2 separate regions of the Homo sapiens genome follow, and region 1 is linked to region 2. Evidence: promoter capture Hi-C in 16 types of primary human blood cells and fetal thymus (Javierre and others, 2016). All regions are on one chromosome and are shown on one strand. The core of a region is centred on a gene start or on the middle of the fragment in contact, and the rest is flanking DNA. Distances in the headings are between cores, read along the strand shown.

The links. The method cuts DNA at HindIII sites, captures the fragments that hold promoters and counts their contacts. A CHiCAGO score of 5 or more calls a contact.
Region 1: a contact is called between a fragment that was not itself captured here and the fragment with the promoter of ARL6 in region 2, in 8 of 17 cell types (activated CD4 T cells, total B cells, naive CD4 T cells and 5 more). The highest score is 8.5, in activated CD4 T cells.

What each region holds. Positions count from the first base shown.
Region 1 is chr3:98,050,800-98,055,184 of GRCh38, forward strand. It overlaps the pseudogene OR5BM1P. Among named protein-coding and RNA genes, the nearest start is that of GABRR3, 18 kb to the left of the region's middle. The HindIII fragment of the contact is 1,003 bases long and covers 1,639-2,641 here.
Region 2 is chr3:97,763,018-97,766,874 of GRCh38, forward strand. ARL6 (ARF like GTPase 6) reads left to right here and starts at 1,741. Exons shown (of 8, transcript NM_001278293.3): 1 at 1,741-1,960. RefSeq lists enhancers at 1,072-1,573, 1,209-1,748, 1,574-2,073, 1,789-1,898. The HindIII fragment of the contact is 6,880 bases long and covers 1-3,857 here.

The DNA.
Region 1 (4,385 bases), core at 890-3,389, 290 kb after region 2:
AGGAAACCAAGGTTTAGACATTTTAAGTTATTTGACCAAAGTCTCAGAAGCAAAGCCACCAAAACTGCCTTTTCCAAAGTCTGTGCTCTTAATCAGCTTTGCTATTTTTCCTTCCCCATGTCTATAAACAGACGCTCCAATTTTAGTGAATATACCCACAGTGAACCTTGATGACGTTAAACATGGTTTCAATTGTTAAAGTAACTTTCTGATAAATTGCAATATCTGGCATGGAACATGAACTTCCTTTTTTTTTAAAAAAAAAATTATGTTGGCTTTTTTTTTTTACACATTTGCTTTTCCAGATAAATTAGAATTTTCTAGACAAATTACCTCCGTATGATTTTGTATAAAATTATATGAAATTTATGTTTATTTGTGAAAGTTAAGTTTTAATAGATTGAGCTTTCCTATTCAGCCACAATTATGGAATTTTATACATTATGCCGCTTACATATGGGAAAATGCTCAACATCACTAATTATGGGGGAAATGCAAATCAAAACCACAATGCGATACCACCTCACTCCTGCAAGAATAAAGAAAAAAAAATTAATGTTGACGTGGATGTGGTGAAAAGAGAACACTTTTACACTGTTGATGGGAATGCAAACTAATGCAACCACTATGGAAAACAGCGTGAAAATTCCTTAAAAAATTAAAAGTAGGCCGGGCGCGGTGGCTCATGCCTGTAATCCCAGCACTTTTGGAGGTCTAGTGGGGTGGATCACGAGGTCAAGAGATCGAGACCATCCTGGCCAACATGGTGAAACCCTGTCTCCACTAAAAATACAAAAAATTAGCCGGGCGTGGTAGTGGGCGCCTGTAGTCCCAGGTACTCGGGAAGCTGAGGCGGCGTCAACCCAGGAGGCGGAGCTTGCAGAGAGCCGAGATCGCACCACTGCACTCCAGCCTGGGCGACAGAGCAAGACTCCGTCTCAAAAAAAAAAAAAAAAATTAAAAGTAGATCTACCATTTGATCCAGCAATCCCACTGCTAGGTATCTACCCAGAGGAAAAGAAGCCATTATATGAAAAAGATACTTGCACACACATGTTTATAGTAGCACAATTTGCAGGTGCAAAAATGTGGAACCAGCCCAAATGCCCATCAATCAACAAGTGGATAAAGAAAATGTGAGATAGATAGATAGATATAACGGAATACTACTCAGCCATAAGAAAGAATGAAAGAATGGCATTTGCAGCAACCTGGATGGAATTGCAGACTAATATTCTAGGTGAAGTAACTCAGGAATGGAAAACCAAACATTGTATGGTCTCACTTATATGAGGGAGCTAAGCTATGAGGACACAAAGGCATAAGAACGATACATTGGACTTTGGGGACTCGGTGGAAAGTGTTGGTGGTGGCGAGGGATAAAAGACTACACCTCGGGTACAGGTTACAGGCTACACTGCTTGTGTGATGGGTGCACCAAAATCTCAGAAATCACCACTAAAGAACTTATTCATATAACCAAACACCAACTGTTCCCCAAAACCTTTGGAAATAAAAAAAATTAAAAATTAAAAATCCCAATCGTTCTATGTATTTTTACTGTTGTTTTTCACTAACTCTAAAACTTTTCCTTAAATTTTCCATTATTGTGCCTTAATTTTGAGTTAACAAAGCAGAAGCTTTGAGAAAACGAGTTTCAGGCCTGCACAGACTTGGGAAGTGAAGACTTTAGCTACAGTTATACAGAATTGGTGACTAGTTAATAGAAATAAAAATATGTCACGTTGTAACACCTACTGGCTGGCCTTGTCATTAAACCTTAAGAGTTGTAAATCTAATACTTATAAATGTTCCCTTGAATGGTTGTATACTTAGGCCTACTGTTTTATAAGTAGGTAGTTCCTGCTTTAGATCAACAAGGCAGGGATTTGAATATGTAAAACATATTTTATGTCCGGAATTATGCAAAGTTTGTCATTAAAGACATGTATTGATGATACAGACATATTTTTTCACCCTGTGTTTCCACAGGATCTCGTTTAGTTTCCTTTCCATTTACTTTCCAGGCTTGTAAAACTCATGGATACACTTTTAGCTTGAGGCTTTTTCTGCATTGCCTTACCTATGTTTATGTTAGTCATTGCCTATTAATTTGGTTAATCCTTTCTCCCCATTTAATTTGTTATTTAAATAAAATTTATAATTTACTATTTAACTTATCACTTAAATTGAATCCAGATATTCAAAACACTGGCCATTCTTTCTACTATGATGTTTTTGTAATGTTTTATTCCACCTTGACTGTGATAGTCCCGTTTGTAATACCAAGAGGATCAGATCATTTTTTGTTCTAGAAAGATAAAAAAGTTCCTGAAAGAATGAGAAAATACACTTTTGAACCCAAAACAAAGTCTCATTTTCTAAGATTTTGGCATAAAATATACCGTGTACCTTTTGCTCTTAAAACACTTCGTTGTTAATACATTCAATTTTAAGGTACTTATGAGTGGCAGGCTATGGGACTAGTTAGTTCTTGTCTAGAATCTCCTCTATAACCCTCAAGAAATAATATGTATTTTAAAAAAATCTTACCATTTTTTCAGTGTACAATATACAATTTCTTACATTGATCCATTTATTAACTCATTAGTGATTTTGTGGTTTTCACTGCTTTTATACAAGCTTTTGCTTTTATGATCATCATAGTTTCTTATACCCAAGTCCTCTTTGCCTTACTGAAAAAGAATTCTGAGAAGGGCAGAAGCAAAAGCTTCCTCATGTGCAGTGCCCACCTGCTCTCTGTCTCTTTGTTCTATAGCAGTGTCTTCTTCATGTATGGGTGCCCCAGGTCTGGCCCAGATTAACAGTGGAATGAAATGTATTTTCCGTTCTACATGATTATAATTCCTCTGCAGACTCCTTTATTTACAGTATGAAAAACAAAGAAGTTTTAGGTACACTTAGAACAATGATAAAGAAATATTTTTGGAGAACACTTTCATAATTCTTTCCATTTCCTTTCTGTTAAAACAAATCGTAATAATTGTTTCTGTGTTTTACACATAGTAGGGACACAATATGTTAAGTGAATGAATAAAAAAATTTAGACTAAATATTCTTGTCTTAGTTATAAGTTATTCTGATCATTAAAATAGTTAATGAGCATTTAAGGACAAACACCACATTTTTGTTGTTGTTTTAAGTACATACTCAAGGATGAAGTTCAAACTGAAATTATAATGCCACATTACTGTTTTTGTAACATGAATGAAACACAAGAGTTCATTCATTTTACAAAGACTTAGTAACAAGTTTTTGTAACATGAATGAACTACATGAAATACAGACATACATGTTTTAGAACTTACTTGCAGTTATTTAAAGGAAGACCCCACCTATATAATTTAAAAAGTGTTCAAAGTATTCATGCACTTCTAAATAATTCTTGAACAAGGCATTTTTCAAACTTTCTCTTTAGCAGATATTTATAATAATATATCAGAATGTTAATAAAAATAATACTGTTAGGCCAAATATGACAACACATATCCTCTTAAAACATTTAAAACTAAGATTTCCATTTGGTTTAAAAGCAATTTTGAAAAGTAACATGTTTCATTGCCTCCATTGAAAGATATGTAAATGTAACAACAAAAATACTAAAAGTAATTCAAATTTCTGCAATATAGTTAGAAAATTTCTGAGTTCTTCTAAAACTTTTACTTTTTAATTTATTGAGTAGTCCTACTGAGCACTGCATTCCTGACACACATATCCTACCTGAATAGTGTTTTCTGGCATTGACACCTGCCTGAACCAGCAGGTGTGCTTGATCAACTGTCAGTTAAATATATTAAGCTAATTTTTTTTCTTACCTACATTGTGTATATATTCTATCTGGCCCTTTCATGAGTAGGCAAACTTTGACCTCCTTACTTTTATTACTTAGACTCTTGAGAATACTCAAGAGAGTATTCTCTTGAGAAAATACTCAAGAAAGATTTTTCCATATGCATAATACATTGCTTTTACCCTGGCTTTAAAAAAAAGTGAAGAAATGGCAGTTTGTTGAATGATATAACCCAAAGCCCCAAATGAGGCACAGTGGCTTTAGGAATAGTTTGTTAGGGTTCAGTTTTTTCAGAACCCGGTTCCTCTCATTGCATCTGAGCTGTGCCTTCTGCTGTGGGGACTCCATTTTAAGCAGGTGTACCCTGTGGCTGCAGAATCTCTGCAGGAGTTCCTGTCTCCATCTCTCTATAGTCAACCCCAGCGACAAAGTGTTCTAATTTTATATGTAATATGCCATACAGGCTGATTAGTCTTGCCTACATAGTGGCCGTATGTCAATGTATAACCTTTCTCTCTCATCATTACACCTATATTATTTCAAGAAAAATCCCCACTGATTTGGGTTGAGACCT
Region 2 (3,857 bases), core at 491-2,990:
TCTGAAATATAACATTTCTGCCGATCGCTAAGAAAAAAAAATGTTATATTTTGGCCGCAAGCACATTAGCTTCCATCTCTTACAAGTAAGTCACAACACCCAGGCACACAGAAAAGTGTTCAACACCTCCCTGTCAATGCATTCACGATTAGAAGTTCAGAAGTTAAAGAACCACCATAGTTACGGTTTGGGTCAATTTTGTTTACACAATAAAAAGCTCAAGACAAAAGAAGACAGGACATTATTTATTGAACAATAAATATGTGCCAAACATCTGTATTTCTGTTATCTTTAATACTCAGAACTACCAGATAAGATAAATACTATATTTTTGAAGGTGAGGATAGAAGCACGGAGAAGGGTAAATTGGGCTAAGACCACACAGTAAGAAAGAATGTATTTCCATACTCCATTTTTACAAGGACATTTATATGTTGATATGCATCCATAGGGTCTTTGTTTTGTTTTTGTCTTTCAACAAGAATCACTAATCCAGAGCCGCTTTTGTTTTTTCGCTGTAAAAATGACAATTACATTTGGAAATTTGGAGAAGTGACAAAAGATAAATCACCCCATAATCACACGCTTACAACCGTCCCCCCTACCATATTACTTTGAAATAATTCCTTCTAGTCTCTTTTTGCACCCTCCTAGTCCATTTAATAGGCCAAATGAATTGACAGGCCAAAGAACAGGCAGTGCAGTAAACATACACTAGCTAGTTGAAAAGGGTCGCGCGGTGGGGGGCAGGGGGTCGGAAATCCTACACCCATGCAAACAAAAAAAATGAAGAGATACAAACCCCTATTTGAAGAATGAGGCCATTCGCTGGGGGTGAGGTTAGTGGAGTTGGGCAGATTGAAAGGCTAGATCTTTAAAATGACTGCATCTGTAATGTGTCCGTTGGAAAACGCAGTAATAAAAGATGTGGGGAAGGGTATGCCTAAATATTTTCTATTTGAAGACCATTTGTGACTATGACTATAAAATCCAAGTGCAATTTAAGAAGGTGGTCAACTTTAAGTATTGACTATTAATACCTTTCCTGACCACCTGCCGATTTGATTCTGGAGACTGTAATCTACTCACAGGAGATTATGCCTGGTAGAAATCTCTTCGGGAGACCACACAACTAAGAAGCAGGGGTACAGGCATACTTTATTAGCCGAATAACACCTTTTGACTTTTTACACCAGTTCTCCCCTCTACCTTCCTGTATTAACAGTTTTACCTCTACAGGGACTCAGGGTGGGAGGCCTATCAGAACCCAGAGAAGAGTCGGTGCGATGGGCAACTGGGGAACTCCGGCGCACATCTTGCCCCAGGGGGGACAGTATCGTCTTGCAGTCGTTGCCACAACGCTACGCTGGTGCCCGGTAACGACACTCTCCGCGCCACACCCAGCGCCAGCCTCTTGGATCCCCAGGAAGACCAGGGCCGAGCGACAAACACGCAGCACACGCGAACGCCAAACGCTTCCCAGAAAGCTGTGCGCGAGCCTACAACTCCCATGATGCTACGCCGGGAACTGCCCGGCTCCTCGCAGGAAATAGGCAGCTCACCCTGCCACCTGTGCACACATTTTTCTTCAATGTATAGTTCCTCGGCGCGCCTCTGACCTTTTCCCGGAGCTCTTCAATCCCAGAAGCTATAGCACAACGGCTGAATCGCCAGGACCCCCGGGGAGGCGTGGCTTCAGGACCGGAAGAAGCTCCTGTTGCCAAGGGAACGGTGCCTGCCAAGGCGCCTGCTCAGCGACTGATGCACAGACTGCTGCAGAGGCTGCCGGTTTTCCCAACTTCTAGAGACGGCTTTGCTCATTACCAGGCATCCTTCCCATGTAGGCATCGAGAAGAAGGCTGAGGGACCCTCGCACCAGATTTCCATCCCGGAGACCGATACGAGTGCGTCCATTCCTGTTGCCAGCTCCTGCGCCCTCCGGACTAACCTCAAAAACCAGGTATCTCCTCAACGCCGGTTTTTAAAGCCAGCGCCACCCTCTGTCCCCGTCAGTTTTAGAATTCCTCTTTGGTCTTTCCCATGTTTTTCACTCCACGCGTGTAGTTGTTGCTAATGTATGAGAAGTAGAAAAGAAGGTGAGTTATAGAGGCCCTAGAAAACTTACTAAACTGGTTTGGACGTATGTTTGGTTGATGGGTTTTAACAATGCTCAACTTAGACCCGTGTATTGGGGGTGTGTGTGTGTGTGTGTGTGTGTGTGTGTGTGTGTGTGTAAGTGTAATTTAAATTATATCATAAAAAACTGAAAGCCGAATAAGAATGTTTATTTGGGGTAATAAAAGTAGGCAACATTTCAATCAACAAACACTTTACAGAGTTTACTAAGTATCATTCGTGGTGTTTTCTCTGGGCTACCACTCTGTCTCTGCAGCTTACCCTCTAAGCTGTTAACTGTGGATAACATCCTAATTCTTCTGGACTTCTCTGGCAATATGTAATCCTTTAGGAAACAGTCTGTCAGACAATAACCAAGAGAATTTGGCTGGTGTGCAAAGAGAGGGTTACAGTAAGATAAGAAACAAGAAAGGAAGATTGGAGCCAGATTGTGGACAACCTTAAAAGCTGTGCTTGGAAGTTTGAAACTACTGGCTTTATTCTGAAAGCCAGTAGTTCTCAATAGTAACTTCACATCAGAAACACTGGGTAGCTTTTAAAACTACAGATGCCCTGATCTTATTTTCAAAAATTCGGATTCAGCAATTGATTTCAGAGTGCAGCCAGGGTTGAGAATCATGGCTATCAGAGTAGGAAGCTGCAGAAAACAGTTGTGTCTCTCGCTGCACACTTAAGACACGATTAACAAATATTGACTGGCTTCAATTATCTTTTATTTATGCATGCAGAAAGTCAACTTATGGAAGGAAAATTATAACTACTTGAAACGTAGAAGTTTAAAGGCTCTATGATAGTTGTTTATAAAGCAATTTCAATAAATGTGATTACCTCTTTTAGAAAAACTGCCTGCTCTTCTAAATTGTGTGTCCCAAAATATTTCATTAACAAGTATCAAGTGATAATCCATGGAAAAGTGATGGAAAGTCACAATACAAGGTACTGTGAAAAACGAATATTCAAGCATCAGGCTTTAAACACTCAGTGCTTTATAGTAGATGCTTAAAGGGGGGAAAATGTGAGAAGTTGTCGTTTTTAAAACATAAGTTCTAAATTATGAAATGGAGAACAAGATATAAGCATTTATATCAATATGTTTATGCAGTAAATAAAGTGAGTAATAGCAAATTTACTTTGAAATCAAATGGTATGTGTGAATTGCTTCATGACATCAGAAGGTTAATTTAAAATAGATTTTACAAATGCTGGTCCTTAAGCTGTAATTTAAAGAAATGGACTGAATAAGATTTGAATCTCTGATACAAGGAGAAAAGCAGATTGAAGTGGCACAAATGGAAGTACCTGAGGTCAAACTCATCCTTGGGGAAAGACAAACGTGGTTCTGTAATAGGCCTCACCTTTTGGCATGGCACTGTTCCATCTCTTCTCTGCACATCACTGAAATTTAGTTTTGAAATTTCTACCCATAATCATATCCCAAAAGGCCTAAGCAAAATGTTGACTATGCAACCTCCTTTTAGATACAGTTGTCTTGGAAGCCTGTTATTGATAAAGTTGCTGCAGCCTCACATCCTTCAAGGTATGGCCTTGCCTGAAATTGTATGGAATAAAAAGTATTGAAGAAACTGTAATATGACAGGTTGCTTATGCAACCTTAGATGGAGATGAGAATAAGTCAATTTAATGAGAATAAAAACATTAGAGAACTAATGTTGGTGAGTAATGAGAAATATTTGGTACATAGATATATTGTAGCAGTTCCT